Linked DNA regions of Homo sapiens: all the other regions are linked to region 7. The links are contacts of gene promoters, found by promoter capture Hi-C in blood cells and fetal thymus (Javierre and others, 2016). All regions are on one chromosome and are shown on one strand. Each heading gives the region's core, a stretch centred on a gene start or on the middle of the fragment in contact. The rest is flanking DNA. Distances are from core to core; before and after follow the strand shown.

Region 1 (2,712 bases), core at 89-2,588, 260 kb before region 7:
TTGAGACCCTTACTGTTTAGGCCCACGGTGGTGGTGATTTTGGATAGACTCATCCCCTTGTAGTTCTTGTTAAATCGGGTTTTCGACTGCTCCAGGAAGGTCTGAGGAGAGAGGCAGAGGCGAAACACATCAAGGAGGGGCTATACTGGCTTCCAAATATCCTTACTCAGGTCTGTTCTTTAAAAGACAGAAACAGAAACAGAGCAACACTCTGCTCTTCAGGAGGCTGGTGGTGACTATCCTGCCGTCTCAGGTGAAATTTGGCTTCCGTCTGGGTAGTGAACGTGCAGCTGACAGCACAAAACCGAAGGGGGCGCCGCCAGGCCGTGGGAAAGGTGCGCGCAAGGGCGTGGGCACTCACCGTCTTCCCAGCATTGTCCAGGCCCAGGATCAGGATGCAGTACTCGTCCTTCTGAAACATGTACTTGTACAAGCCCGACAGCAGCGTGTACATCCTGCCCTGGGCACCCCAACATAGGTCAGTGTGCAGCCAGAAAGCACCTCCCCTCCCCCGGGCTTCTCCACGGTGGTCAGTGGCGCCCCACGTCCAGCCGACCGCTCAGGACGAGAGCCTGGGGGCCATTCCCGACTCCTCGTCCCTCTCCCACCCCGTCCCTCTGTAACTTCTCCCAGGTCAGCCGCCACTGTGTCCTGCTCACAGCAATGACTGCGACCTCTCCGCATACACATCGGTTCCGGCCCCTCCCCTGCTCGCGGGACTACCCAGCCGGGTGTTCACAGTGAGCTCAGCCGCGCTCCCGCCCTCCCCCGAGGCTTCGCTCCCACGCTTCACGCGCGCGGAACGGGGAACACACTCGCTGCAGCCCCGCCTGGGCCACGGCACCCTCGAGCGCCAGCCCCGCGCCCCACCCGGGAGCAGCGAGCCACCGGCGCGCTCCCCAGGAGCCCCTGCAGGCGCCGGGTAGGGACGCCCCATCACCCCATTTCTTAAAACGGGGACGGCCCTGGGGGGAGCGGACTACAGGGCGGGTGAGCAGCGGCGCGGCTGCTCCTGGAGTGCACCTGGAGGCGGCGCGCGGCTGGCAGGGAACGACTGCGAAGGAAGAACCTGGGTCGCGGCCCCCGGCTACGTCCGCCCCAAGCCGCCGCCGCCAGGTCTGAGGCTCCCCGACAAGCAGCCAAAGCTGGCTCCTGTCACACCCGCGTCCCACCTCGAGTCCTGGGCCGCCCCTCGGGCCTCGCGCCTCACCGCACAGCCTGCGGCCTACCTGCGTCCGCCGCGCCCTCGGAGCCGCTGCTGCTGACCCCCGCTGACCTCCGCTGACCCCGCGCTAACCCCGCGCGGCGCCTGACGGGACGCGGGCCGGCCTCAGGGAATGAGCTGAACCGCGTCCCAGCGGCCTCCGCGCTCCGCTTCCCGGCTGCCCCCGCGCGCCAAGCACTTCCGGAAGCGGCGGCGCTCGGGAGGAAGTGCCGATCGGCTGCTGGGGCGAAAAGGGGGCGCCGGGCCGCTCTAGCCGGTGAGGCCGGCGGGCTCTCTGTGGCTGCGGCTGGGAAACCGCGCGGAGGAGGTGCCCGGCCGGGGACCAGGTGGCCGCGGTTTGCGGGGACGCGGCCCTGGCCAGACAGAAGAGACGCCGGGCGGGGGGGCGCGGCCGGCCTGGAAGGCGGCGGGCGCGGCGGGTGGGCTCGGCGGAGGGTGAGGCGGCGGGGCGCCCCGCGGGGAAGGGGCTCCGGAGTGACGCGGGACCCGGCTAGCGGCGAGCCCACGGCGGCTCGGAAGGGAAGCGCGGAGCCTGAGCGGGGGTACCCGGGCTGCGACCTCTGCGCTGGGAGCTGTGCCTCTGAGCCGGTGTCTCCCCGAGGGAAAGGGGACGTGCCCGTGCCCGTGCCCGCCCTCAGGCTGTGGGGTCGGTCCCGAGACGCGGGGCTCAGCTGGCTTCTCTTCTTGCAGCCCTGGTCCAGCGCCTCCCTCTCTCAGCATGGACGAGGAGAGCCTGGAGTCGGCCTTGCAGACCTACCGTGCGCAGCTGCAGCAGGTGGAGCTGGCCTTGGGCGCCGGCCTGGATTCGTCTGAGCAGGCTGACCTGCGCCAGCTGCAGGGGGACCTGAAGGAGCTCATCGAGCTCACCGAGGCCAGCCTGGTGTCTGTCAGGAAGAGCAGCTTGTTGGCCGCGCTGGACGAAGAGCGCCCGGGCCGCCAGGAAGATGCTGAGTACCAGGCTTTCCGGGAGGCCATCACTGAGGCGGTGGAGGCACCAGCAGCGGCCCGTGGGTCCGGATCAGAGACCGTTCCTAAAGCAGAGGCGGGGCCAGAATCTGCGGCAGGTGGGCAGGAGGAGGAAGAGGGAGAGGACGAGGAAGAGCTGAGTGGGACAAAGGTGAGCGCGCCCTACTACAGCTCCTGGGGCACTCTGGAGTATCACAACGCCATGGTGGTGGGAACGGAAGAGGCGGAGGATGGCTCGGCGGGTGTCCGTGTGCTTTACCTGTACCCCACTCACAAGTCTCTGAAGCCGTGCCCGTTCTTCCTGGAGGGAAAGTGCCGCTTTAAGGAGAACTGCAGGTAAAGCCCTTTGTTGTCAGATGCCAACCTTAGGGGCGTAAGGGGCACGCACACAGGGTCGGGTCAGGATCGGCCCTCCCTTTGCTTTGCAGTTTTGTCTCAGCTTCCTGGGGCAGGCGTGCTTTGACAGCTGTGTCTGTGTTCAGGCGTCTACGTCTTCCTTCTGGGGTGAATCAAGAAGCATG
Region 2 (2,879 bases), core at 202-2,701, 360 kb before region 7:
GGGCAGCTGCCTCTGGGGAGATGATGTGGAGAAGCTGGGAGAGGTCTGGGTGGGGTTCCCAGCTGTGCACCTCATAACAGCCAACTGTATGATGTGTGCACTTCTAAACTTCCAGAAGTTTGCTTAAAAACACACGCACACCAGCCGGGCACGGTGGCTCACACCTGTAATCCCAGCACTTTGGGAGGCCGAGGCAGGCGGATCACAAGGTCAGGAGATCGAGACCATCCTGGCTAACACGGTGAAACCCCGTCTCTACTAAAAATACAAAAAATTAGCCGGGCGTGGTGGCGGGCGCCTGTAGGCCCAGCTACTCAGGAGGCTGAGGCAAGAGAATGGCGTGAACCCGGGAGGTGGAGGTTACAGTGAGCCGAGATCGCGCCATTGCACTCCAGTCTGGGCGACAGAGTGAGAATCTGTCTCAAAAAAAGAAAACAAAACAAAAAAAACATGTAGCAAGAGGAAGTCTCAATTTCCAGATGGTAGAAGAACAGATTTAATTCCCCACAAAAAAGAAGAGGATCTTTAAGTCCTTCAAGACAGCCCTGCCTCAGCTGCCACGTGGGGTTCTCTTCTCAGAGAAGAAGGCGCATGCAGACTCTCCACTGCTCCATAAGCCACTGTCCCGCGAGGGCAGAGCCTTGGCGTCCTGGCAAAGCAACTGCAGACTGAAAAATGCCCTCTGGTCCTTCATGGCTCCCTCCATCAAGACAGGGGGCTATTTCCCACCCCCTCCACTTGACTTTGGGCCAAGCTTTGAAGAGCTTTGACCAAGAGGCTGTGACGAGGCCCTACGAGGACTCTGGCTCTCCTCCTGCTAAGCACACCCAGGCAGGTGTCCTGGCAGATGAGGACCACATGCAGAGCCTCGGCCAGCCCACCAATGCCCGGATATGCAAGTGAGCCCAGCCTGGACCCCCCGGCGAGGCCCAGCAGCACCAGCCCAGGCCCGAAAACCTTAAGAAATGACCAGTGTCTGCTGCTTTAAGCCACCAAGCTCTGCGGTGGTTTGTTAGGCTGCAAGCATGGCTAATTCAGAAACTGCCAGAAACAAGCACTGCTGTCCCCAGCCTGGGACACACAGCACCGCCTCTGCGTGGGGAGAGGGCACAGGCTAAGGGCACAAATGCCATCCCAGACCCGGCTCTTGTGTGTGGAAGGGGCCACTGTGCCATGAGGCAGAGGAAACCTTGGCAGGACCTTATGCCACAGCAATTTAAAAGAGAAGAAACAGGCTGGGCGTGGTGGCTCATGCCTATAATCCCAGCACTTTGGGAGGCCAAGGTGGTGGATCACTTGAGGTCAGGAGTTCAAGACCAGCCTGGCCAATATGGTGAAACCCTGTCTCTACGAAAAATACAAAATTTAGGCAGGCGTGGTGGCGGGTGCCTGTAATCCCTGCTATTCAGGAGGCTGAGGCAAGAGATTTACTTGAACCCGGGAGGTGGAGGCTGCTGCAGTGAGCTGAGATCATGCCACTGCACTCCAGCCTGTGTGACGGAGTGAGACTTGGTCTCAAAAAAAAAAAAGGAAACACATCTGACTAGTGTGATCTCGCAAGGAACATTCCAGACACAGTGGAGCTAGAAGGTTCTTCTCCAAACAAGGAATCCCCAGGGGATCAAATTGTTTTGCATCGGCCAGACATGGTGGCTCAAGCCTGTAACCCCAGTGCTTCGGGAGGCTGAGGTGGGAGGACTGCTTGAGTCCAGGAGTTCAAGACTAGCTTGGGCAACACAGTGAGAGCCCATTAGCCAGGCGTGGTGGCACATGCCTGCAGTCCCAGCACTGTACTAAAAATCTACACGGGGCCGGGCATGGTGGCACATGCCTGTAGAGTCCCAGCTACTCAGGAGGCTGAGGCAGGACGATTCCTTGAACCCAGGAGGTCACGGCTGCCATGAGCCGTGACTGTGCCACTGCACTCCAGTCTGTGCAACAGAACGAGACTCTGTTTCGAAAAACAAAAAATCATTTCATGTCTCCAGTTTCTCCACTGGCAAAAGACTCTGTCAAGGTAAAAAATGGTTCTGACCCACAGAAATCTAAGAAAGGAAAAAATATAAAAAATAGAAAATTTAAAAAAGAGATGGTCTCAGAATAAAGACCAACCTGGGCTATGGTTGTCACTCTTCCCTCACACCTTAGAAAGCTTTCTGGCCGCATCTGGCCAAAGGGCCACCCTGCCCCATCTTGGATCAGTGAGGTGCCTTCGAACAAGCCACCTGCCCTGGAGCCCGTCCTGTCTTGTCTGCCACCGCACGCTCAGTAGGGGAGGGGAAGTCGCTAGGTTTTAGTTCACCAGTCTCTGGATCAAGACGTGCCATAACCAAGAAGCCCCAGCCACACCCAGACCCGACGTGGCCACAAGGGGTGAGCTGGGAAGGCCCAGGAAAAGGCGGGAGGCGGACGAATGGAAATGTCATTCTGTGGCCACAGAAATGATCTCAACGTTTTGTAACTTCCTACCAAGAGGCAGTCTTAGCTCTGCCCTTGAACCAGCACTTGGTGATGTCGCTTGCGTCAATCAAGGCAACAGAAGTGAGCAGGAGGCCCACTTTCCTCTGCAACTGTGGGCTTACGGGGCAAAGAAGTCCAGGCCTCCAGGTGGAGGATCACAGACCGGGCAAAGCAGAGGAGAGCCACCCAGCCGAGCCTACCTGTGCCTCAGACTGCCTCCCTCCAGAGACCCCTGTGGCCAAGGCCACCCAGACCAGCAGGTCCTTGCCAAGCTGTCAGCTGACGACAGGGGTTGGTGAGGCCGGCCCAGACCAGCAGAACCACGAACCAACCAACAGAATTAAAAATAATAACAACTATGTCTTGTCTTAAGCCACTAAGTTTTGGATGGTTTCTTTCTTTCTTTTTCTTTTTTTTTT
Region 3 (2,941 bases), core at 126-2,625, 380 kb before region 7:
CTCACCTCGCCTCTTCAAGTGATGCTTCATTGAAGTCATCATAAATCTCAGTATCTATCATGTTTCCATTTTTCTACACCAGAACAAGTGGGGCTTTGAGAGACAGAAACCGTCCTGGCTCTTCCTGTGGGTCCCTCTCTCGCGCCTGCAGAACACAACTGGGCGTGTCGTTCATATGTGGCCATTTTGGGCGTTGCTGATAGAGACTTTATACACAGATCTGGCTTAAAAAACAAACCCGGGGCCGGATGTGGTGGCTCACGCCTGTAATCCAGGCACTTTGGGAGACTGAGGCGGGTGGATCACCTAAGGTCAGGAGTTCGAGAACAGCCTGGGCAACACGGCAAAACCCCGTCTCTACTAAAATACAAAGTCAACCGGGTGTGGCGGCGTGCGCCTGTAATCCCAGCTACTCGGGAGGCTGAGGCAGGAGAATCGCTAGAACCCGGAAGGCAGAGGTTGCAGTGAGCCGAGATCAGGCCCCTGCACTCCAGCCTGGGCGACAGAGCAGGACTCCTTCTCCAACACCACCACCAACGACCTGGAAGCAGTTGAATGTTTTGGGAATACTGGCCTTTTCCACATTCATCAAAGACATGGCAGTGGTGAGTATGACTCATATTACACATCTGGAATTATTTGGGGCGTGAATGAGTCGTTTTTCCGAGTTGGGGCTGGCACAGCATCTTTTACTAACTGCACAGTAGCCAAGTCAATGGTTCTCAGAGATTGCAGGTTAAAGAACCCAAATCATCTTCAGAAGAGCTGAGCCTCAGCCTAGCTGTGAGGCACTGACTACAGGGCGTGGAAGGCCCAGTTCCTTCCCTGGCAGGCGGTCAGGCAGGGCCAACACTAACGCGGTGGAGCCGCTGGGGAGGCCCTGGGGAGGACAGACAGGAGGCTGGGCTCTACCCAGCCCCTCTGACCACAGCAGCCCAAGTGTCCTGGGCTTCTCAGGACTCAGCACTGAACCTGCCAGGCTGCCCCAGCAGGACGTGGAAGGGGGCCCAGGAGAAGGGTGAGGCCTCCCTAGTGCCCTGGCCTCACTCTCCTACCCAGCGGGACAGGACAGGACTCAACTGGGTCCCACCTGGGCCAACAACAAGGACGTCCCTGGGCACACAGGAACACAATCTGGCCAGCAATGCGGAGTGGCAGCTTAGGGACAATGCATGTGGCATTGCTGGAAACACATCACCAAAGACCACCCAGAGATGTGACCAGGGAGCCCAGGACCTAACTTCACTTTAACTTCAGTTTTTTTGTTTTGAGATGGAATCTCACACTGTCGCCCAGGCTGGAGGGCAGTGGAGCGATCTCAGCTCACTGCAACCTCCGCCTCCTGGGTTCAAGCGATTCTCCTGCCTCAGCCTCCTGAGTAGCTGGGACTACAGGCATGCACCACCACACCCGGCTAACTTCTGTACTTTTAATAGAGACAGGGTTTCATCCTGTTGGCCAGGCTGGCCTCAAGTGATCCACCCGCCTCGGCTTCCCAAAGTGCTGGGGTTACAGGTGTGAGCCACCACACCCAGCCTAACTGTAGTTTTAAGAAAAATTTCTCTATTCATAAAGCTGGAAAGAATTCTAGGGAACAACCTCTCCACAGTTTAGAGCTACAGACACCAACGTGGAACAGTATCTAAAGCGTCACCCAAAAACCCAAGTGGCAGGAATACCTGCAGCAAGGCACCCAGCACGGAAGGCGGGAGCACAGGCGCGCAGTTCCGTAAACCGCCAGGTCAGGAGGGAAGCGGGTCCAGATTTGGGGCTGGGCCGTGGGGGTGGGAGGGAGGGGGCCGGGTGGGCGCCCAGGCACTCTCTGTTACTCGCTATACCCTTCCCCACACGTGAGTTATTATATTACAACCAAAATGGCTTAAAAAGAAAAGTGCTTCAATCTTCCTTGTCAATGAAAGCAGCAATTCTGCCAGATCTCCTCTGTGAGGCAGGAGGAGGCTGATCCCAGACAACTCAGGGTCCCAGGCAGGAGACCGGCAGTCCTGGCGTGAGCAAACGCCTGGGGCCAAGGAGGCCACCCAGGGGCATGTCACCCTCTGTGGCCATGGCCAGGGTGGGGCTGGGTCAGGACGAGCAGCCCTGTGCACCTACCGTCGGCTGCGGCGGGCGTGAGGGGAATGTACTCGGCCGACGTGGGGCTGCTCAGGGACACACGGGCTCCTGAGAGGTCAATCTTTGTGCTGCGGCAGGTGTTGGAGCAGACCTTGTCATGCTGGTAGAAGTCCAGTTCCCCGGAGTCCATGATCTTCCTGTGACAGACAGTGGCATGGAGCGTCCAGGTCGGCCCCAGAGCCGAAGGCACCTGGCCCGCCCACCCTGACCTGGGCCATCCACCTGCGTGGGGCAGGCCTAGCAGAGGCGCTGGCAGCTCCACAGGGCAGGGTGGGCTCTACTTCCCTCTTAGCGCGAGCTCGGCGTGCAGGACCCTGCTGCTGAAGAAGCAGCCGGCCCAGGCCCACGCTACGGCACTGTCCCCAGGAAGGGGGCAAGCGCTGGCCAGTGGGTGTCCTGGAGGTGCCCGTCAGAGTCTGTGGGGCTGGGCCTTTCTGGGATGTCCCACTACCCCAGCCCCAAGGGAGTGACCCACAGCTAACAAAGGTGGGCCCAGTCCACCTGCATCATGCGTGACTCATTCTGAAGCAGAGGAAGGTGGGAAATCACTTCCAGGAGAACCTTCCTCCTTCTAAAGGCACAGAGACAGCCAAGAAGAGTGATGAGGGCGCAGGACAGCACCAACGGCCATGGCTGCCGCTCATCCTCATCTTTACCAGGAAGGCTTCGTACGGCCCAAACTGCTGAGAGCCGCCCTCCCAGGGCCCTCTCTTCTGCCTCTCCGGAGGTCCAGGGTCTCAGTCCTGTGTGTCTCAACGAGCCTGCCTCGACCCATGAAACGAGGGTCAGAGGCTCCAGCCTCATTCAA
Region 4 (2,840 bases), core at 51-2,550, 460 kb before region 7:
GGAAGGCAATAAAGGGTGAATTTGCAGCTGGAAATAAATCAATTGATAATTGGCTTTTACCCCTTGAGCGTGGGTTGCATTGTCCTGTTTCTTCGTGTGTCTAGTGATTTTTGACTGAATACTGAACATCATGTGGAGAGTCTACTCTGCTTCCTCCTCTGAAGCTGTCGGTGTTTGCTTTGCAGGTTGGTTCACTGCTGGGCCCTGTGGACTTGTTCTCATGCTTTGTCAGTGTCGATGTCGAAAGCCCAAAGTGTTTCCCAAGTCCTGCTACCTTGGTAAGACTCAACCCTCAATCTCAGTCTCCCCTGCAGATCTCTGTGGGGCTTGGTCTGAACTTTCGTTAGGTGAGTGTGGAGTAGGCATTATTGTACATTGTAGTCCTTTCTCCTCAAAAAAAAAAAAAAAAAGTAAGGTCTCTCCACTCTAGCCAGGTCCAAATGCCAAATGCCAATGCCGCCCAAGTCTCTCCACTCTGGCCAGGTCCAAATGCCAAATGCCAAAATACTGCCCGACACAGCTTGTCCTCTACTATCTTTGTTCTGCTCTAACCTGGGTGGATACAACCTCAGGTAATCCCTGGTGAGTCGCAGCCTTGAGTACTTTCCTCCGAGAAACACTACGGTTTGTGTCCAGCCCATAGAACACAGAAAGGTGATAAGTCACTCTGTGATTGGCTGCATCATTCCAGGCTCTGTCCTGGGGGACGGAGCAGCAAGACACCCCTGCTGTCTGTGAAGATATGGCTGTTGGAAGGCATGGGAGGGGCCTCGTATCAGGGAACCAGTGAGTGGCCCCAGGCTGCCAGCCAACAAGAAAGCAGGGACCTCAGTCCTACAGCCACAAGGAACTGAATTCTGCCAACAACCACGTGGCCTTCAAAGAGGACCTCAAGCTTCAGAAAGAAATACCAACACCTTGGTGGCACTCTTGAAACCCCGAGCCACCCAGCGGAATTGTGTGTGGGCTCCTGACCCCCCAAAACTGAGAATAAATGCATGTTTTTTAAAGCTACTAAATCGGTGTTGATTGGTTATGCAGTGACGGATAACAGCACAGGGCCTATAGTCACTGCTCTCTGGTGAGCCTCCGGCACCTCCTCACCCTCAGCCACAGGCTTGCAGAGGTCCCAAGCACTCCCCACCAGCAACATGCACACCTAAGCCCCTCACTCCAGTCTCTGCCTCTCATCCCAGGGGGACTGCCGTGCTCTGCCTGGAGCCCTGCTTGTGGGGTTATGGCCAAGGAGAGCCGGGAGTGTGGGCGCCTCCAAGCACCCTCTCGGTCTTGTGCTGTCCTCACCCCACTGCCTGAAGAGAGCAGCGCACGAATTTTGTCTGGTCTCAGAGTCGTTTCTGGAGGGAGACGTACCTGGCAGCAGCTACTCCCCCGCAACTGGAAGCAGCGGTTGACTCCACATCAATACAAAGACAAGGTTACTTCAGTCTTTTTACTTTTATATTTTATTGTTTTACTATTTTCACGGTATATACATTGGGCCTGTCTTTTTAAAAATCTTTTATGACACTGAAACTTTTGAAGAATGCAAACCGGTTGTTTTGTAGATTGTCCCCGCATTGAGCGTTCCTGACATTTCTGCATGAACAGATTGGCACCAAGAGCCAGGCATCCTTCCCAGCACTCGGGACGCTGGCTGCCCACCAGCGGCAACGGTACCTTTGATCCTCTGGTTAAACTGGCATCCACAAGCTTCTCACAGTAAAGTTACCACTTTGCCCTTTGTAACTGATAAGTAAGCCGGGCACGGTGGCTGACACCTGTAATCCCAGCACTTTGGGAGGCCAAGGCGGGTGGATCACTTGAGCCCAGGAGTTCAAGACCAGCCCGGCCAAAATGGTGAAACCCCATCCCTACTAAAAATTCAAAAATTAGCCAGGTATGGTGGCACATGCCGGTATTCCCAGCTACTCAGGAGGCTGAGTCACGAGAATCGCTGGATCCCGGGAGGCAGAGGTTGCAGTAGCCAAGATCATGCCACTGCACTCCAGCCTGGGTGACAGAGTGAGTGAGAATCTGTCTCAAAAAAAACCCTGAAAATTAACAAGGAAGTACTTTTGATACTGGTGGCCAGGGGAGGTCCCCAAATGCGAATGGGACCTTGACCCAGGCCAGTGTCCTGCCTCTTAACACCATCACAAAACGAATTCAAGGATGAGTTAAAAAATAATGAAAGTAGAGATTTATTGCAAAGCAAAAAGTACACCCTCCAGAAAGCAGAGTGTGGCTGGGTGTGAAGGCTCACGCCTGTAATCCTAACACATTGGGAGGCTGAGGCAGGAGTTCGAGATCAGCCTGGGCAACATAGTGAGACCCTGCCTCATAAAAATAAACAAGCAAATAGAAAAAAAAGTCAAAGAAGAAAGGGGAGTATGGGTGTTCTCAAGAAAGTGAGTCGTGAGGCAGGGTTTGGGGCCCCTACCTTTAATGGGTTTCTTTAACCAAGGAGTGGAATATTCATAAAGATTTCTGGAAAAAGGTGAAGATTTCTAGGAACTGTGGTGCCACCCTTTTTTACACCAAATATGTGTGTTCCTGGAACTGTCATGGCACTGCCGAGTGTGATTTGTGTGTTGATGAGCATATAATTAGGTCACCGGTGAAACCCAGGTCAAGTCCGCTGCCATGTGGGTCCAGTCGTCTCGGCCAGCGTGGCCCAGTGGGTCCAGTCATCTTGTCCAGCTCGGCCCAGTGGGTCCAGTAGTCTCGGCCCAGCTCGGCCCAGTGGGTCCAGTCGTCTCGGCCAGCGTGGCCCAGTGGGTCCAGTCATCTTGTCCAGCTCGGCCCAGTGGGTCCAGTCGTCTCGGCTCAGCTCGGCCCAG
Region 5 (3,008 bases), core at 34-2,533, 390 kb before region 7:
TCCACAGAGGCTCCTGCACAGAGGGACATCTGTGCCCACCAACAGCTCCCGGCAGCTCCTTCTACACCCAATGGACCGGGAATGCCCAGGGCCCCTCGCTCAGGGTCTATGTAATGGGCAGTCTCCACCCTGTGCCATGGAAGACTCTAAGGCCATTAAAAATGAGGTTGGCCAGGCACGGTGGCTCACACCTGTGATCCCAGCAATTTGGTAGGCTGAGGCGGGAGGATCACTTGAGCCCAGGAGTTCAAGACCTCAGTAAGCTGTGATGGTGCCAGTGCACTCCAGCCTGGGAGACAGATCAGGACTGTGCGGCCAGGACAGGAGGGAGATGTCCTGTTTCCGCCCACCTTTCACATCTGTGCACGTCTTCTTAACTCAAAACAAAAACAAAAAGTGCCACCTCGAGTCCACAGAGCATTGAAAACCTGCAGGTTGCCGTGGACAGCTCTCTGGCTCCCGTCCAGCTGTGCTCAGGCCACAGTGACCCCTAACACGGGCTGAGTGTGAGACCACGGGAGAGAGTTCCACGTACACACAGCACACGGCCAACACGCTCACACGGGCTGAGTGTGACACCACGGGACAGAGTTCCACGTACACACAGCACACGGCCAACAACACGCTCACACGGGCTGAGTGTGAGACCACGGGACAGAGTTCCACGTACACACAGCACACGGCCAACAACACGCTCACACGGGCTGAGTGTGAGACCACGGGAGAGAGTTCCACGTACACACAGCACACGGCCAACAACACGCTCACACGGGCTGAGTATTAGTAATATTATTGTATCCACGTCAGCTTCCTGACTTTGTAACAGACAGCTTCCACGTTCTGAGGAAACACACCTTGAAGTGATGGGGTAAAGGGTGAAGGGTGAAGGGTGAAGGGGTATCGTATCTGAAAGGTGAAGGGGTATCGTGTCTTAGTCTCAATTGCCTGGAACTACAGGCTTCTACAGAACCGGCAAATGGGCCAGAACAAAGCGACTGGTGAGTCCGCATAGAGCACAGGGAGTCCTTTGTTCTATTTTTGCAACATTTGTGTACGTTTGTTTAAATTATTATATCAAAATACAAAGTAAGAAATGTCTGCCCAACACCCTCAGCTTGTCTCATCCCGGTCCCTAGGTCCTCCTCACCCAGCGTCCCTGCCAGTGGGTTCCATGGCCCCCCAGTGCCAGCCTGCCGTCTGCTGCCCTCTGCCGTCTGCCATCACCTGAACCCTGCAGGAAAACGTACACACTGTCCCCAGCGTCACGAAGCAGGTGGAGGTCCCCAGGGCTTAGGGCCAGGCCTCAGTTTACCTGTGACTGTGGGCCATGTGCTCTCGGGCAGGAACTGACGGCCTCTGGGTATAACTCGCTTAAGCAGGTCTTTAACACCCGGTTCCCATCTTTCCAGAGACCCTCCCGGGCGCCCTCCCACCAGCCAAAAGCTCACACCCCTAGTGGAGGAGGTGATAGGGTCTGCAGTGGGAGGGAGTGGAGCCGATTTCAGATCTCCTCCTCTTGGCCTTGTGGGAGCCGTGCAGCCGGGAGGCCTCCTTCGAGATGAGCCCCTGGGGAGAAAGTCAGGGGGACCACACCTTCTCCTTGCAGGGGTGCCAGAAGGATCTGATGGGGGTTTAGTCCCAGGATGGGTCTACGCCCCCCGGGGCCTCCCAGCTGCTCTGTCCTCTCTCCCTGCCTGGCCTCTGCACACACAGCCATGTGCGTGTGACATTGTGAAATATACATTAACATATTTGGTCTCGTCCCGTTTCCTGGCAAAAACCCCTAAAATCCCTGGAGTAGCCAAAGTGGCAAGTGCCTTTTTGTGCTGATATTGACCGAAGGCTGGCAGCCTGGAGGCAGCCTCAGGATGGGGCTGGTCCTCAGAAAGGCCTCAGCAGGAGTAGAGGGTGGTACTTGCAGCCTTGCCCCAACCTCCAGGCAGGGGAGGGGAGAGGCGGCTGAAGGCGGTCCTCACCAGTGGCCAGTGACGTAATCAATCATGCCTGGGTAATGAAGCCTCCATGAAGTCGCAAAAGGACAGGGCTCAGAGAGCCGTGGAGGTTCCTGGACGGGGTGCCCTTGTGGGGTGAAAGCTCTGCGCCCCTCCCCTTACGCATCTCTTCATCTGCGTCCTTTGTAACGTCCTTTATAATAAATGGGTAAACATGTTTCCCTGAGTTCTGTGAGCTGCTCTAGGAAATTAATCTGACCCAAATATGGGGGTTAGGAACCTCAATTTATAGCCAATTGGTCTGAAGCACCCGGGGCTTGAGATTGGCATGGGGAGTGGGCAGCAGCCTTGTGTGGACATCTCCAGGTAGATGAGGATGTCTAAGGACAGATGGCGTCTCCAGCTAGATGGTGTCTCCAGGTAGACAACAACGTCTATGAATTGACGGTGTCTCCAGGTTAACAACAATGTCTCCAGGTTAACAACAATGTCTCCAGGTAGACAACAATGTCTATGAATTGATGGTGTCTCCAGGTTGACAACAATGTCTATGAATTGATGGTGTCTCCAGGTTGACAACAGTGTCTCCAGGTAGACAACAATGTCTCCAGGTTAACAACAATGTCTATGAAAAGACGGTGTCTCCAGGTAGACAACAATGTCTATGAATTGATGGTGTCTCCAGGTTGACAACAATGTTTCCAGGTTAACAACAATGTCTATGAATAGACGGTGTCTCCAGGTTGACAACAATGCCTATGAATAGATGGTGTCTCCAGGTTAACAATAATGTCTCCAGGTAGACAACAACGTCTATGAATTGATGGTGTCTCCAGGTTGACAACAATGTCTCCAGGTTAACAACAATGTCTATAAATTGATGGTGTCTCCAGGTTGACAACAATGTCTATGAATTGATGGTGTCTCCAGGTTAACAATAATGTCTCCAGGTTGACAACAATGTCTATGAATTGATGGTGTCTCCAGGTTGACAACAATGTCTCCAGGTAGATGATGGTGTCTATGGGTGGACAATGTCTCCAGGTTGATCTGGAA
Region 6 (3,002 bases), core at 500-2,999, 290 kb before region 7:
CCACTTAAGGAGAAGTCTCCACACTCTGGAACCGGATCCTGGAACGTGGCCTCCCAGGCCCCCACTTAAGGAGAAGACTCCACACTCTGGAACCGAATCCTGCACACTCCATCGGTTTGGAATTTCCTTTGGCTGCTGCTCTAAGTAGCCGCTGGTGGATGACTCAGCTTCTGCCAGCCCTCGGGTGCCTGGAGGATGAGGGACTGCACACAGTGCTCACCCGCGTTGGCTCCTGAGCCCCTGCAGGTGTGGGCGGTGCCCATAGGGCTGGTGCTGGGTTGGGCCTGCAGCCCTGAGTCACAGGTGACCCTGGGGGCAGAGTGGGGCCAGTGGCCCCAGGAAGAGGATGTGGGATGCACAGCTCAGCTGGAGGCGAACTCCAGGCAGGGTCAGGCCGTGTGCTCGGAAGTCAGGGCTTAGCTGGAGGCAAACTCTGGGCAGTGCTGGCCCGTGTTGGGGAACCAGTTGCCCCTGGGCCCCCGTGAGACTGCTGGGTCCTCATCCCTCTCTGCCTGAGGCCGGAGCTGCCCTGGGCTGAGGCACAGGGGGATTTGTGGTGGTGTTTTTTTGAGAAAGGGTCTCGCTTTGTCACCCCGGCTGGAGTGCAGGGGCTTGATCACAGCTCACTGCAGCCTCAACCTCCTGGGCCCAAGTGATCCTCTTGCCTCAGCCACCCGAGGAGCTGTGAACACAGGTGTGCACCACCGCACTCAGCTAATTTTTAAAATTTTTTTGTAGAGATGAGGTCTTGCCATGTTTCCCAGGCTGGTCTCAAACTCCTGGGCTCAGGCAGTCTGCCCGCCTTGGCCTCCCAAAGTGCTGGGATTACAGGCAAGAGCTTCCATGCCTGCCCAGCAGAAGGCTTTTCGAAGGAAGCTGTTTCCTGAGGCAGACTCAGCCCTGCTCATGGCAGCCACCAGCGTGGGGGTGAACTTGTTCTGTTACTTCCATCCCCGTGGGCCAAATGCTTTGGTAAAACACAAGGCCCTGTGTTTAGCTGTCTTGACAGTGAAAATGGCTGGGAAGGAAGGAAGGAACGGAAGGAAATTTCTCTCTCCTTCTGTGCGTACCCAGGCACGTGCACATGCATGCAGAGTACGCACACACGCACGCACGCCTGCACAAATCCACGCATGTTGCCAAGTCTCTGTGTTCCAGCCGTGGTGTCTGCCCCCCGGTGTTCTCTAGTTCGGCTTCTCCGCATTTCTGTGAATGATTCCGGCTTCTTGGTGTTCCCAGCAGAACTCCCTCAAGTCTGCGGCGGGGCTCTGACGGCGGTGGCTTGGCTGACATGGCCACATTGCTGAGCCTGTTGGGGGCTTTGCGTTCCTGTTCTGGCCGTTTTTGGCTCGTTTTCCAGGAACGGTCGTCACGCGCTCCTCTCCTAGTGCAGGCATCATTCCTTTCCCATTGATTTGCAGGGTTCTCTGTAAGTTCTGAGGATCCCATATACATATACTCTCTGTAAGTTCTGAGGATCCCATATACATATTCTCTCTCTAAGTTCTGAGGATCCCATATACATATTCTCTCTCTAAGTTCTGAGGATCCCATGCCGACATACATATTCTTTCCTTGTCTCATGCTGGTCATTTTTTCCATTTTCATGACAGGTTTGGTGAACACATGTTTCCTTGTCAGATTTTTGTTCTGAGCTTGTGCCTCCCGACCAAGATGCTAAACCGGGTCTTGTGTATTCTCCAAACTGCACTGTAGAGTGACGGAGCTTTGTGTCTGGGCCTCCATGCCTTCTGACGTCACCTGTGGGGGTGTGAAAGGCAGACTCTACCTTGATTTTTCCCAGCACGCCACACCGGTGGTTCTGTGCGCTGACCGAGCGGCTCGGCTTCCCCCAACTCCACTGGGCACCTGCCACACTTTTCCTCATGTTTTTGTTCACTGTGGTTTTGTCGTAAGTCCTGGTGTTGGCCTGAACCAATTTCTTTTTGTTTGTTTTTGAGACAGAGTTTTGCTCTTGTTGCCCAGGCTGGAGTGCAGTGGCGCGATCTCGGCTCACTGCAAGCTCCGCCTCCCGGGTTCACGCCATTCTCCTGCCTCAGCCTCCCAAATACCTGGGATTATAGGCACCTGCCACCACGCCTGGCTAATTTTTTGTATTTTTAGTAGAGACGAGGTTTCACCGTGTTAGCCAGGATGGTCTCGATCTCCTGACCTCGTGATCCGCCTCCCAAAGTGCTGGGATTACAGGCATGAGCCACCGTGCCCAGCCTGATATTTTTAGTAGAAATGGGGTTTTGCCATGTTGGCCAGGCTGGTCTCGAACTCCTGACCTCAGGTGATCCTCTCACCTTGGCCTCCCAGAGTGCTGGGATTACGGGTGTGAGCCACCACGCCCGGCCTCTTGTTCTTTTGAAACCTGCCCTGACGTTTTTTCCATAGTGCATCTTGGAGTCAGCGTGTCTACTTCCTGTAAAAATCTTACTGTGATTTTGACTAGAATGTGTTGAATTCCTGTTTTTTTTTTGAGTCAGGGTCTCTCTGTTGCCCAGGCTGGAGTGCAGTGGGACCATCACAGCTCACTGCAGCCTCAACCTCCTGGGCTCAGGGGATCCTCTCAGCTCAACCTCCCAAGTAGCTGGGACCACAGGCACATGCCACCATGCCCGGCTAGGTTTTTTTTTTTTTTTTTTTGGTGAACACCCTGGGGTTGCACCATGTTGCCCAGGCTGGTCTCGAACTCCTGGGTTCGGGCAGTTTGCTCCTCTCAGCCTCCCGGAGTGCTGGGATTACAGGCCTGAGCCACTGCACTAGGCCATGTTGAATTTCTAGATTAATTTGGGGCCCTCAGGGGCACAGAGAGGAGGGCTGGGCCAGTTGGCGGGAGGAGAGGCCCCTCGGGCTGCCGCATTTTCAGTGCATGGAGATGGCCTATGTTGGGGGAACACAGAGCTCACCGGGGGTCCCTGCAGGGAGGAGAAAGGGTCAGGCAGGTGCCAGCTCCTGTCCATTGGCCTGGGGCTGCATGATGGCAGGGGCCGGTG
Region 7 (2,700 bases), core at 33-2,532:
TGATGCTCTTCGCAGACTTGTCTCCAGGCTTGGCAGGCTGACCCGCCCCCCACCTCTCTCTGGATCCTCTCAGTCCTCTGCCTACAGACCCACCACTACCACTTCAGCCAAACAAGTCGTGGAAGCACCAGCAGTGAAGGCCCAGGATGCTGGCCAGAGAGAACGCCCTGCTGCCCAAGGCTGGGGCCCCCGAGGGCCTGTGCTGCTGGGAACCCCATCCTGAGAGCTGGGGAGCAGAGGAGACTCTGGGCCCAGCCCTGTGGAAAAGCCACGGAAGGGGGTGGGACAGGAAGCAGGGTGAGGGTTGAGTGGGCAGGTGGCCCCCTCCTGATAGCTTCTAATTAACTTGGATCCGAGGGGATGGGAAGGGGCTGCTGTGTCCAGGAGGGCCAGAGAGCTGAGGTCAGAGGTCAGGACAGTCACTGCCCATTGCCAAGGGGGAGGCCAGTGTCCGGGGACAAAGTTCTCTGGAAGTCCTCACTTTGCAACTTTTGAAAGGAGACAGGGCCGGCATGAGTCATCCCAGCACCTGATGACCCCGGTGGCCTGGGGTGCAGGTGCCTGCTGAGGCCCCACTTCCAATTTTTCTGAAGCCTGGGAGAAGAATTCAGAATAGTGGGGCCTGAGGCCAGGGCCAGCCTGGGAGGCAGAGACGCGACTGGCGCCCCGGATGAGAAGGGGCTTCGGCCCTCCCGAGCCCAGCGGGGACACAGAGCCCTCGCGGGGAGAGGGGGCTCCGCCGCGCTGCGCGCAGGAGACGCCAGCAGCGGGTCCGCCGCGTAGGCCGTTCGGCCCGGGACCCCGGCCCAGGCCTGGCGCGCGGGTGAGCGCGGCCAGGGACGCGCACCTGGGGCCAGCCTCGCCACCCACCTGTCACCTGGGGCCGGGAGCGGGCGCGGGGCGCGGGCCTCGGCCTGGCCGGGCAGGGCCGATCGCGGGCGCGGGGTGGGGGGGCGAAGGCAGTGAACCAAAATGGCGACTTTTTCTGGAGAAGGAGGAGGCAGGAAGACGGCGCCGGCGCGGGGCGCGGGGGCTCGGGCGCGGCGGGGGGCGGGGGGGCTCCGGGCCCGGCCCCCTCCTTGGCCTGCGCGCAGGGTCGAGATCCGGGGCGCGGTGGGCGCCGGGGCTGCGGCCAGAATGGGTCCGGGGCGCGGCCGGGCGCTTACCTGCGGCGCCCAGCGGGGCTGCGGCCGGGCCGGGCCGGGCCGGGGCGGGGGGCGCGGGGCGCGGGGCGCTGGGTCCGGGCGGCGCAGGCTGCGCGCCGCGCTGCGCACATGCGCGCTCCCGCCCCTCCCACCTTTGACAGTTTTACTGCGGGGGGGAGGGGGCGAACTCTCGCGTTATTCCCGCGGCCGCTCCGCGACGGGGAGGGGGCGGGGAGGGGGCGGGGGCGGGGGCGGGGGCCCGGCGCTGGCCTGTGGTTCCCCCGCTCCGCGGTTCCGCCCCCGTCGGCCGGGCCCGCAGTCCAGAGTAGCCGGTTCTGCCGTCCTGGGGCGGGGGACGTTTTTTGGACAGTGGGGTAAACTGAGGCCCGATAGGGGCGCTAGGCACTGCCCGGAGTCCGGCGCGCACGGATTGAGGCGACCTGATTCCGCCGCATCCTGGCCCGCGCGGCGAGTGTGGTCTCTGGGCTCGGGACCCTGACCTCTGGCCCTGGGGGCCGTGCACCGGCAGCGCAGGATTCAGCCTTCTTCCAACTGGCCCTGAGACCACTTTTGCGACTGACCCCCGGAGGTGCCTGGCGGCTTAAGGCCATGGGGTTTTACTGGGGTCACTGACCATTGGGTCACCCTTTCCCAGCTCTGGGGGCAGTGGTTCTGAACCAGTGCCAGGGCCTTCTCTGCCCCACAGCTTGGGCTTCTGCAGGCAGGGGGCACTGGGGTCCGGTGTGGGCTGAGTGGTCTGGAGGTGGCGGGGCACTGACAGCACAGGACTTGGGAATGAATGAGACAGAGAAAGGTTGGCTCTCCTAAAGAGGACTGGTAGGAGGCACCACACGGGACTGGCACAGGACCCACAAGAATCTCCCCCAGGAGAGCCTGCCTGCCTGCCTGCCTGCCTTCCTTCCTTCCCTCTCTTACTTCCTTCTCTCCTTCCTTCCTTCCTTCTTCCTTCCCTCCCTTCTCTTCCTTCCCTTCCCTCCCTCCCTCCCTTCTTCCTTCCTTTCCTTCCTTCTTCCTTCCTTCCTTTTCTCTTTCCTTCCTTCTCTTCTCTTCCCTCCCTCCCTTCCTCCCTTCCTTCTCTTCCTTCCCTTACCTTCCTCCCTCCCTTCTTCCTTCCTTTCCTTCCTTCTTCCTTCCTTCCCTTCCCTTCCTCCCTTCCTTTTCTCCTTCCTTCCCTTCCTTCTCTTCCCTCCCTCCCTTTCTCCTTCCTTCCTTCCTTTCTCTCTCTTTCTTTTTCTCCCCTCCCCTCCCTTCTCCTCCCCTCCCTTCCCCTCCTCTCCTTTCTCCTTCTCCGTTCTTTTTTTATTCTTGAGATAGGGTCTCGCTCTGTCATTCAGGCTGGAATGCAGTGGTGTGATCTTGGCTCACTGCAGCCTCTACCACCTGGGCTCAAGCAATCCTCCCACCTCGGCCTCCCAAGTAGCTGGAACTACAGGTGTGTGCCACCCCACCTGGCTAAGTTTTAAAGTATTCATAGAGACGAGGTCTTTCTGTGTTGACTAGGCTGGTCTTGAACTCCTGGGCTTAAGCCATCTTC

What was found. Contacts are between HindIII fragments. The CHiCAGO score rates a contact against its expected background, and 5 or more counts as called.
Region 1: the fragment with the promoter of ARFRP1 here is called in contact with the fragment with the promoter of ZNF512B in region 7 in 3 of 17 cell types (fetal thymus, naive CD4 T cells and activated CD4 T cells); the score reaches 6.7 in fetal thymus.
Region 2: a fragment that was not itself captured here is called in contact with the fragment with the promoter of ZNF512B in region 7 in 5 of 17 cell types (total CD8 T cells, M0 macrophages, activated CD4 T cells and 2 more); the score reaches 6.2 in total CD8 T cells.
Region 3: a fragment that was not itself captured here is called in contact with the fragment with the promoter of ZNF512B in region 7 in 2 of 17 cell types (neutrophils and activated CD4 T cells); the score reaches 5.2 in neutrophils.
Region 4: a contact is called between a fragment that was not itself captured here and the fragment with the promoter of ZNF512B in region 7, in 7 of 17 cell types (monocytes, neutrophils, M0 macrophages and 4 more). The highest score is 9.7, in monocytes.
Region 5: a fragment that was not itself captured here is called in contact with the fragment with the promoter of ZNF512B in region 7 in 9 of 17 cell types (naive CD4 T cells, activated CD4 T cells, naive CD8 T cells and 6 more); the score reaches 8.2 in naive CD4 T cells.
Region 6: a fragment that was not itself captured here is called in contact with the fragment with the promoter of ZNF512B in region 7 in 1 of 17 cell types (activated CD4 T cells); the score reaches 5.6 in activated CD4 T cells.

The regions. Positions count from the first base shown.
Region 1 is chr20:63,706,638-63,709,349 of GRCh38, forward strand. ARFRP1 (ARF related protein 1) reads right to left here and starts at 1,339. Exons shown (of 8, transcript NM_001267547.3): 1 at 1,230-1,339; 2 at 362-460; 3 at 14-101. The coding sequence starts at 454. It overlaps ZGPAT (zinc finger CCCH-type and G-patch domain containing), which reads left to right and starts at 1,402. Exons shown (of 7, transcript NM_181485.3): 1 at 1,402-1,481; 2 at 1,916-2,527. The coding sequence starts at 1,944. RefSeq lists enhancers at 405-464, 1,327-2,287 and silencers at 615-664, 755-994, 1,415-1,474, 1,515-1,674. The HindIII fragment of the contact is 8,200 bases long and covers 1-2,712 here.
Region 2 is chr20:63,610,098-63,612,976 of GRCh38, forward strand. The region is part of intron 2 of GMEB2 (glucocorticoid modulatory element binding protein 2); the gene reads right to left. Among named protein-coding and RNA genes, the nearest start is that of GMEB2, 16 kb to the right of the region's middle. RefSeq lists an enhancer at 396-565. The HindIII fragment of the contact is 1,398 bases long and covers 753-2,150 here.
Region 3 is chr20:63,593,498-63,596,438 of GRCh38, forward strand. It overlaps GMEB2 (glucocorticoid modulatory element binding protein 2), which reads right to left. Exons shown (of 10, transcript NM_012384.5): 6 at 2,113-2,270. Among named protein-coding and RNA genes, the nearest start is that of HELZ2, 21 kb to the left of the region's middle. The HindIII fragment of the contact is 6,029 bases long and covers 1-2,941 here.
Region 4 is chr20:63,504,719-63,507,558 of GRCh38, forward strand. It overlaps LOC105372725 (a long non-coding RNA gene), which reads left to right. Exons shown (of 3, transcript XR_937004.3): 2 at 186-278; 3 at 637-1,014. Among named protein-coding and RNA genes, the nearest start is that of EEF1A2, 7.1 kb to the left of the region's middle. The HindIII fragment of the contact is 815 bases long and covers 894-1,708 here.
Region 5 is chr20:63,577,520-63,580,527 of GRCh38, forward strand. No RefSeq gene overlaps it. Among named protein-coding and RNA genes, the nearest start is that of HELZ2, 4.8 kb to the left of the region's middle. The HindIII fragment of the contact is 4,805 bases long and covers 1-3,008 here.
Region 6 is chr20:63,682,413-63,685,414 of GRCh38, forward strand. All of the region lies in intron 14 of RTEL1 (regulator of telomere elongation helicase 1), which reads left to right. All of the region lies in intron 14 of RTEL1-TNFRSF6B (RTEL1-TNFRSF6B readthrough (NMD candidate)), which reads left to right. Among named protein-coding and RNA genes, the nearest start is that of TNFRSF6B, 13 kb to the right of the region's middle. RefSeq lists enhancers at 1-300, 1,027-1,751. The HindIII fragment of the contact is 9,518 bases long and covers 1-3,002 here.
Region 7 is chr20:63,968,648-63,971,347 of GRCh38, forward strand. It overlaps ZNF512B (zinc finger protein 512B), which reads right to left and starts at 1,283. Exons shown (of 17, transcript NM_020713.3): 1 at 1,167-1,283. RefSeq lists enhancers at 1-172, 173-708 and a silencer at 1,391-1,470. The HindIII fragment of the contact is 18,187 bases long and covers 1-2,700 here.